Regions from separate parts of the Homo sapiens genome. Here region 1 is linked to region 2. Evidence: promoter capture Hi-C in 16 types of primary human blood cells and fetal thymus (Javierre and others, 2016). All regions are on one chromosome and are shown on one strand. The core of a region is centred on a gene start or on the middle of the fragment in contact, and the rest is flanking DNA. Distances in the headings are between cores, read along the strand shown.

Evidence for each region. The method cuts DNA at HindIII sites, captures the fragments that hold promoters and counts their contacts. A CHiCAGO score of 5 or more calls a contact.
Region 1: a fragment that was not itself captured here is called in contact with the fragment with the promoter of POLA1 in region 2 in 1 of 17 cell types (fetal thymus); the score reaches 5.7 in fetal thymus.

Annotation. Positions count from the first base shown.
Region 1 is chrX:23,667,848-23,671,641 of GRCh38, forward strand. It overlaps PRDX4 (peroxiredoxin 4), which reads left to right. Exons shown (of 7, transcript NM_006406.2): 2 at 3,682-3,794. Among named protein-coding and RNA genes, the nearest start is that of PRDX4, 2.3 kb to the left of the region's middle. RefSeq lists a silencer at 1-108. The HindIII fragment of the contact is 2,021 bases long and covers 1,535-3,555 here.
Region 2 is chrX:24,691,217-24,697,243 of GRCh38, forward strand. POLA1 (DNA polymerase alpha 1, catalytic subunit) reads left to right here and starts at 2,702. Exons shown (of 37, transcript NM_001330360.2): 1 at 2,702-2,788. The coding sequence starts at 2,746. RefSeq lists enhancers at 671-1,171, 2,874-2,963 and a silencer at 2,524-2,683. The HindIII fragment of the contact is 2,747 bases long and covers 1,542-4,288 here.

The DNA of each region.
Region 1 (3,794 bases), core at 1,295-3,794, 1.0 Mb before region 2:
TCCGGAGACACGTGTACCCCGGTTACACCCCCGGAATCTGGGCTTGGGCGGCACCCCCTGGGCTGCCTCCGGGCCCTGGGCGGGCCTGGTTCTCACCTAGGAGGGCGGGGAGGGGAATAAAGGGGAGTTCTAGCTGTGAAGAAAGGTATGGTTTCCACTGATCAGATTTTAGAAGAGGTAGTGGTTACCCCAAAAGCCGCAGCTGAGGGAAAGTGGGTGGCCCTAGTCCCGAGTTTGCATCGAGGATGTTGGGCAAACTGAAACAGTTCCTGAAACATCTCAAAGTGCCTTCAGCACATCCTGTCTTTTTCAGGTACTATTTCAGCGAAGGAAGACATTGATAGGTTGAATAATGATTCACAAAAAGTTTGATTAAACAGAAAAGTTGCTAAACACAGTGCTCGGGAGGTCAAACATTTCATTTTTCTTTCTTCCTTTTTGTTTGCATCTTACAAAGATTATTACTGAAAGCCACCTTCCCCAAAGCCTGTGTAGTTAATGGATATTCCTTATGTTTCTCAGACATGAAGAACCTATTACAGAGTGTACTTTTGAGGGAAATGGGGGAAAAGGTTAGAAGTATGCATTTGGGTTGATGATAAACCTCGTGGCAAATTTGTGTCCTGCCAATTTGGTTTTTGATTATTTGCATTTCTGTCCAGTGTACAAAGCTAATGGCCACTTTCAGGAATGACACGTCAGACGAAGTAGATACTGTGAAAGTTGTAGCCTGCTACATCTGGATGTTAAAATTAACCAAAAGTGAACAGTGGCTATAGATAAAGGCTGTCTCTTGCTTGCTATTCAGTAACCTGCTTTTCCTGCAGATCATTTGACATTCTGTAGGTGTGTAGTTGGTTTTTATGGTTCAGTTACAGCATGTTCCATGCCAGTATTCAGTGAAAAAAGTAATGCTTCAAATTCTGAATCCCTAGAGTTAAATGGAATGTTGTTATGACTTAGGATGGGTTGGTTGGGAGTGATAAATGAGAAAAACTGTTTTGTCCTCTTAAACATTTACAGTTCTTACTTGCTGAAAGTAAGTACTTTCAGTTAACCACTTTGGGACTTTTTTTTTTTTTTTATTTGAGATGAAGTCTTGCTCTGTCACCCAGGCACCCAGGCTGGAGTGCGGTCGCGCGATCTCGGCTCACTGCAACCTCCGCCGCCCGGGTTCAAGCGATTCTTCTGCCTCAGCCTCCCAGGTAGCTGGGACTACAGGCGCGCACCACCACACCCGGCTATTTTTTGTATTTTTAGTAGAGACGGGGTTTCACTATATTGGCCAGGCTGGTCTGGAACTCCTGACCTCATGATCCGCCTGCCTTGGCCTCCCAAAGTGCTGAGATTACAGGCGTGAGCCACGGTGCCCAGCCTACTTTGAGATTTTTAACAAAACCAGTCTTAAATTTTAAAATCAGTATTTCCAAGTCCCACTGGTTTTACTTGCCTGGGAAAGTATTTTAAATATGTCAGCCAGTTAAGTGTTTACTTACATTACATATATTTTCCATAGGAAACAAATCTACTTCAAAGCTTTCCCTTTACCAGCAAAACTTAACATTTTAGTTGTTTACTACATTTCTCTGTCACATGTAGGCTTATCTATAATTAAAGATACAAAGACTTTTGTTAGTAAAGACTATTATGGAGCCATTAAGGCCATATTTTCAAATAATTTTTAGTAATATCAAAAACTGTTCATAATTAATTTACTGTTTCCTTTAAGGAGAAAAAAAAGGCGGGATGCAACACGTGGCAAATTTGTGTTTAAAAAAGAACGGAAAGGCCAGGTGTGGTGGCTCACGTCTATAATTTCAGCACTTTGGGAGGCCGAGGCCATCCGATCACCTGAGGTCGGGAGTTCGAGACCAGACTGGCCAGCATGGTGAAACCCTGTGTCTACTAAAAATACAAAAATTAGCCGGGTGTGATGGCGCATACCTGTAATCCCAGCTACTGGGCAGGCTGAGGCAAGAGAATCCCTTGAACCCGGGAGGCGGAAGTTGCAGTGAGCCCAGATCACACCACTGCACTCCAGCCTGGGCGACAGACTGAGACTCTTGTCTCAAAAAAAAAAAAAGTAAATAACTAAAATTAAAAAAAATAAGACTAGAAAGACAGACATCAGAATGTTAACAGTAGTTGATGGGAGTTATGGAGAGAGAGGATTTAAGTATTCTTTGTACTTCTCTGCATTTACCAGAATCTTTATGTTAATTACATAATTTATATTCAAGACAATTTTTGTTTTTTTAATAAATGCAAGGGATTGCTTTGGGAATTCCATTTATAGATCTTAGCAAAGTAACTACCATTCTTAACCAAATATTTCCAAAATCAATTTTCAGAACAAAATTTATTTTTCAAATATGGTTTTCCCAGTATGCTAAAATCATTAAGGCGTGTCATTGTAATAGATCATTACAATTATTATAACCTCTCACTTGAGTAGCATTTTAAGTAATTTATTTAAAGTATATATAATTGAATACTCTTCTGCTGTCTATTTCTCCCTCCTGGCCTTTACCTAATCAGATCAGGATTATATATATGAGGTAGGATGCTGGCTCAAGATAAGTAATCATATGTTATATATTAATTTTTAAGAGAAATTCATGTTGTTTGTCTCTATTTTGGAGTGACCATAAATGGTGGCTGTTACAGAGAAGTATAAGCCTTACTTTCTAGGACCCTTAGCCAAACTTAGAAGCAAGCATTGACTTCAGTGTTTGTAAGGGGTCTGAAAGTATAAGTGCTATCTGAATGTGTTAACAGAGCATGAAGGTGCATTAGTATCTAAGTGTGTTGGCTAAAATTACTGTACGCCCTTACAAGAGAGCAGCATGAACTGTTCAGTTTCCATTGGGTCACTTGAAACCTGTTCAAGGGAGTCTTCTTTCAAAGCCCTCTAGGAAAATGATCCCATGGTCTGGGATTTTACACTTCTGGCCTGACATATTTGTACATTCCCTCCTCATTTTGTGTAGCCTCATCTGCAGCAGGTCCTCCATGTGTATGTCAGAAGCTGGACAAACTAGTACATCTGGAAGACTGCCATTAGAGAAAGGAAAATCTAATTATTTGAAATGTAGGAAGTTGACAACTTGAAGCGGGACTATAGTGAAGTATCCAGGAGGGTTTAGTGCAGGGTAGAATTTAAGGGGTCTGTGAGCATGAATAGGGGAAAAAAGTATTTATTTTCACTAATCCCCATCTGAAATTTAGTGTTTCCTTCTATTATGAATGTCAGCAACAAACTACACTATCTTCAGCAGCACTTGCTTGTACCTTTCACCAATAGAATCACTTATTTTCTTGCTACATATGGTTATCGCAGGTATCCTGAAACACCATTTTCACTCATCATTATCTTACGTAGTTGTCAGATTACAACTAGATCTTGCAGTTTTGAAGTGTTATAGAGCACATGTATTATGATATCACCAATTTTTTTTAATATTTTTATAATTGCATTTAAATACAATTGGTTTCTTTTGTAATTCTATGTATTTTCCTTTTTGCATTCAATAACACTCTTTTAAGAAGTCTGTAAGCTTCACCAGACTGCCAAAGAGATCTAAAGGTAGCCCTGATTTTTAGTGATTTTCTAAAGATGTCCTTCTACCATTCCACCAACTTTCTCAGTGTTACAGAACATCATGTATTTTATTTTCTTAGTTTCCAAGCCAGCGCCCTACTGGGAAGGAACAGCTGTGATCGATGGAGAATTTAAGGAGCTGAAGTTAACTGATTATCGTGGGAAATACTTGGTTTTCTTCTTCTACCCACTT
Region 2 (6,027 bases), core at 1,452-3,951:
ATTCCCACCATGACTGATTTCAAGCTACCAACAGTTTAACATGGAGATTACAAAATACTGGAATATTTAACAATCAGCTCTTGAGAACCTCCAACTGTCCCTCTGATACACTTCGCTTCTTGCATAGTAGCAGTGAAATAGGCATAGGCATTTTGGGATTCCACTATGGGGAAATGGAGTTGATATTGCATTTAGTTTGGGCTTATTTCTTCTATTTATGTGGGTCGAAGGCACTTAACCCACATATATACTTAAGCCATATATACTTAAGTTATTGATAGACTTTTTTTTTTTTTTGAGACAGAGTCTCACTCTGTCACCCAGGCTGGAGTGCACTGGCACAATCTCGGCTCACTGCAACCTCTGCCTCCCGGGTTCAAGCTATTCTTCTGCCTCAGCCTCCCAAGTAGCTGGGACTACAGGCGCCTGTCACCACACCCGGCTAATTTTTGTATTTTTGGTAGAGATGGGGTTTCATCATATTGGTCAGGTTGGTCTTGAACTCCTGACCTCATGATCTGTCAGCTTCGGCCTGCCAAAGTGCTGGGATTACTGGCGTGAGCCACAGCGCCGGGCTGTTATTCATAGACTTCTTGGTGTAGGAATAGCTTCCAGGAATATTTCTACCCCAGTGTGATGACTTACCAGGAGTTTTGAACTGAAAGTGTAGGGCCAGAAGACATATCATGGTATGAAAGTGTCTGGCCTGGCATGGTGGCTCACACCTGTAATCCCAGCACTTTGGGAGGCTGAGATGAGTGGATCACCTGAGGTCAGGAGTTCAAGACCAGCCTGGACAACATGGTGAAACCCCATCTCTACTAAAAATACAAAAATTAGCCAGGTGTGGTGGCGGGCGCCTGTAATCCCAGCTACTCGGGAGGCTGAGGCAGTAGAGTCGCTTGAACCTGGGAGGTGGAGGTTGCAGTGAGCCGAGATGGTGCCACTGCATTCCAGCCTGGATGACAGAGCGAGACTCCATCTCAAAAAGAGAAAGTGTCCTACAGGTCTTTTCCCACAAAGTATGTGGGTCATTGTCTCAGTCTGTTCAGGCTGCTATAACAAAATACCACAAACTGGGTGGCTAATAAACAACAGGAATTTATTTTTCACAGTGCTGTAGGCTGGGAATTCCAAGATCAAGGTGCCGGCAGATTCAGTGTTTGGGGTAGGCCCACTTTTTGGTCCATAGATGGTGCCTTATTGCTCTGTTCTCACATGGAAGAAGGGGCAAGGCAGCTCTCTGGAGCCTCTTTTCCGAGGGCACTAATCCTATTCATGAGGGAGGGTTCCTGCTGATGACCTAATCACCTCCCAGAGGCCCTACCTCCTAACACCACCACACTGGTGATTAGGTTTCAACGCATACATTTTATGTGGAGAGAAACATTCAGACCACAGCAGTAGTGAAAGAGAAAAGAGGTTTGAAATGCCTAGAGTTATACCCGGGCATGTGGGAAGTAATCAGCTGTGAAATTGTTAAGGTAAGGATTTGGTTCTTATTAATGACTAGCCAACATGGTTCTCTCCTGGTTGGAAAAAGCTTGATAATAAAACTATAAAACTTCCATCAGTTTTTAAAAGGGAAGTGTAGGAATAAATCTGTCGTAGTACTTTAAATAGGAAGTTATGTCTAAGTGTAAATTACTACATGTTATGTATCACAACATATGGATCACATAACATGATATTAAATGATTATGAAGCTGAAAGACATTTTCTAAACAATCAGAAATTAAGAAACAAGTATTGATCAACCATGCTAGAAGACAGATTGAATTATCTTTATATCCTCTTTGGAGAAAATATTACAAAATTGTTGTCACATGAAGAAGGGATCAATAAGCATGTGGGCAATAATGTAGGAAAAAATACAAATGTGTGGCAGGCATTATTTAATAAAAATGTTATACCTTTTTGGAAAGAGATAACATGAGATGTACACATTACAGCCATTGTATCATACACAAAAATTGAATACCCTTTTTGTTTTTCATAACATTGAAATTTTGGAGTTCACGTCAGGTGTTTTGTAGATTGTCCTACATTTTGAATACATCTGATTGTTTCTTCATGGTTAGATTCAGGTTAGACATTTTTTGCAAGAAGACCATATAGGCGAAGTTTTTCCTTTTTCATACGCATTACATCAGGAGGCATATGAGATCAGATGGCCATTTATTGGTAATGCTACTTCTGGTTATTTGGTTAAGACGGAGCATATATCTTTAAGTTGTTAATCACACAGCCACTGTATCCAGACTGCTGAGAAGCAAACTATCAGGCAAAATTCAGGGCGCGCAGCAGGAGGCAGTCGCTTTCCCGGCTCTGGGGAAAACGATCCAACCACGCCCACTCTCCTGCCCGCCCGCGCCTCCTTTCCGGGAAAATGGGCTCTGAGAACCAGAGCGCCCTTTCTCCCACGCGCCCAAATCTTTTCCCATCAGCATGCGTGCGCTTGCGCAGTCTCCAGGCGGCTCCTTTCCAGCGCCCGACCGCTTCTTTCTCCTGCTCTCCTCCGGCTTCCCCTCAGCTCTAGCTTTTCCCTAAGGGGTCATCACAGGGCGCCAAACGCGCGTCCGCGGGAAGGCCGGGGGCGGAGCGCGGCGCGGCGCGGCACGTCAGTGGCCTTCCGGCCGGAAGTCCGCAGCCTCCCGAGCCGCTGATTGGCTTTCAGGCTGGCGCCTGTCTCGGCCCCCGCGCCAGTTTTGGGCTGGTTGGCGCGGAATCGGGAGATTCGGGACCATGGCACCTGTGCACGGCGACGACTGTGAGATAGGGGCGAGTGGTGAGGGACAATTCCGCGCGCGGGGCTCCGGGTTGGGACAGTGGCATGATTGCCGGTGGTGGGGGTTCTGAGGGAGGCGCACACCCGGGTTTGTTTGGGCGCAGACCTTGGTCGTCCCCGGCGGGGGCCCTTCTGGCGTCGGACCGGGCTTCCTTTAGGCGCGGTTTGCTCTTGGAGGACCAGAGCCTGGAGGGATTTTTGTTTGGGAGGCTGTCTCACCTCTGCCACTGAGAGTCTCCACAGTCGATTGCGTTTCTATTTCTTTTGGTGAGTTGCACCCACGTGCTGGGTATAACTTTATTGAGACTGGCCCCGTGGGGCCGAAAGTATTTCACTGCGATCTCCCTAAGTATCCACTTGAAGGCTTGAACAGAACAGATCTGTGTCCCTTTTTGTAGGAACTTCCAGGAAAATTTTATACATTGTAACTAAGCAGGAAAGAAAGCTCTAAGTGCTGTCATCGGGGAATAACGCGTTTTGTATTTTTAGGTAATGGGTTTCTACTTTATGCATTAACAATTTTTCTTTCAGATTCTTTGGAAAGTTCTTCAAGTGCTGCGTAGAAATCCTGTTCACAATCTAGTCATTCCTGGTGAAGTTTCAAAAAAATGGCATCAATTTAGGGCATTTCGGATCCCCTGTATATCACTCCGTTTGTCAGGGGTGTCTTTTATTTCCAAAAATAGAATACAAAAATGCAAATAGATTTGTCTGATTTTTTAAGTGTTCAACTAAAGCGTGACTTCAGTTAACTTCTAACTTAAAATCAGATGCTTCACTTTGTTAGCTCAAGCGTCACCTCTCCTGTCATTCAGATACATCACCATTAATGAGAACTCGCTTCCTAATCAGCTTCCTTTGCATTCACCTAGTTGTGAGTCACAGATTTCAATTTGTTCTAGCCGTTCGTTTTTTAAGACTATTTTGGAGAGTCGACCTGCCTGGATTACAGATAGGATGTTGGGTGTAAGTATGTGAACGAACAGTCTTTGCAGGCCTCTATCAGTGATTTGCCACTAAGCCCTTTCTTCATCCTAAAAACTACGTCATCTATGAACATCAGGAAATCACTTTGGAGGATACTGTGCAATCTTGAGACTCCTCTTAGGTCATGGTGTTCATTAAGTAGTTGCTGGGGACTTGTGACTGGAATTTTTCCTTTAGAGCAGACTGAAGGATTGTTACCTGAAAGACTGCTGTAAGCTAGTGTCTGTCTGCTTTTGGGGAGGATAGAGATACTCCAGATGGTAATTTTGAAACAAATATTTAAACCTTTGTAGCTGGATTTTTTTCATGCTTATTCTTTTTTTGCTAAGTTACCTACGTGAAGCATTGGAGACATACTCCAAAAAACAAAATGTAGGCTTTTTTTTTTCTTCAGTATTAGCAGGCAGGGCACCTTGATAATGGCAGTGAAAAGTTGAAAGGTCTGTAACTAGCTGTTACTATATATGAAAAAAGATCAGGGAATTTTTATTTATTTATTTATTTTTGAGACAAAGCTTCCCTCTTGTTGCCCAGACTGGAGTGCAGTGACGTGATCTCAGCTGGCTGCAACCTCTGCCTCCTGGGTTCAAGCAGTTCTGCCTCAGCCTCCCGAGTTGCTGGGATTACAGGTGCCCACCACCACACCGGCTAATTTTTTGTATTTTCAGTAGAGACAGGGTTTCACCATGTTGGCCAGGCTGGTCTTGAACTCCTGATGTCAGGTGATCCACCTGTCTCTTCCTCCCAAAGTGATGAGATTACAGGCATGAGCCACTGCGCCCGGCCAGGGAAAGTTTAATGATCAAAAAAGCAGGTACAGTGGTTCATTCATTGGTTCATTCAGCAAATATTTATTATATACCTACTAGGTATAAGCCTTCTGCCAGGCTCTGGCATTATGATGGTGGGTAGGCTGGACATGGTTTGTCTTCATGAAGTACAGATGGTAAACATCTAATCATATGCAGAAAACGGCTTTGCTTTGTTTTTGCCTTCTAAAGCTAGACCTTGGTACTCTTAGGTATGGTGTGTGTGGGGTATGTGGATGTGTGTTTGACTTCACACGCGGAAGCGTTACATGAGCCGCTCCTATATTGCTAAGTGCAAAGTAAGATAGGCATCTTCATGTAATCCTTAACAGATTTTGAAGCAGACATGATTATCCCCATTTCACAGATGTGGACCCTGAGGCTCTGCATCAGTCAGAGCCCCTATCTGTAAGCTGCAGGAACCAACTCTACCAGATTGGTTAGAATTTGTTAGAAGAATATTGTGTTCACAGAAACTCCAGGAGGACTAGTAAGCCAGTCTGGGAGCTGTTTAGCCAGGAACAGTGAGTGAAATTGTGCCACAAAAATGGGCCAGTGAGGAGGTCATTGCCAACCACGAGCAAGTACTTGATGCTATAGCTCATACCTTAGGACATTGCTGACATTGTTGCCGGTTTTGTAATCCTTCTGCAGCTGTTGCTACTTGTAGAATCTTTTAAAACCCATGCCCCCTTCCTTGTGACACTAGCTTCTGATTTAATGTCTGAGCAGGTGTTCCTAATCGGTAGCGCCTATTTTATATGCCCATGCTCTAGGCTGCAAGGGTGTCTGGGAAAGAGCATCAACCTTTTCAGCTTCTGTAATGGGGCATAGGCTCTGCGTCTCATCAAGACTTATAAGGGATGGGGGCCGGATTTCACAAACAGTTTCAGATGCTAGGCTGCTTTAAATAACAAGACACCTGTCTGCTGCTTAACTGGTTAACCGGTGTTCTCATGTCACCCAGTAAATGGCAGAGCTGGAATGTGCTGCTTCTCCCTAACCTGGTTCTCCTACTCACTCTACACTCCCTTGTCGAATTTACCTTGCACACTGAGTTCTCTCAGTTTCTGAATACACTATGCATTTTCATCCCTTTGTAATTTGGCTCATGCCTCTTCTTTTGCTTGTGCCACTTTTTACTTTGTTCTCTGTGAAATTTGACTCCTTTTTCTAGGCCTGTATTGGAAACCTCTCCTGTGAAGCCTTCCTTGATTTTCCAGGCAAAATTAACAGCTCTCTCCTCTGTACATTTCCTCAGTACTGAGTTCTTACCTTTTCTATGGCACCATGTTTATATTGTGATGGTAATTTCAGGTACTTTGCTTTACTTGACTGGGGGCCTCTTTTGGACAGGCAGCTCTGTCTTATTTGTGATTGTACCCTAAACCCTGTGTAGTGGAACATTGTTGCCTGTGTAGTGGGACGTTGCCTGTGTAGTGG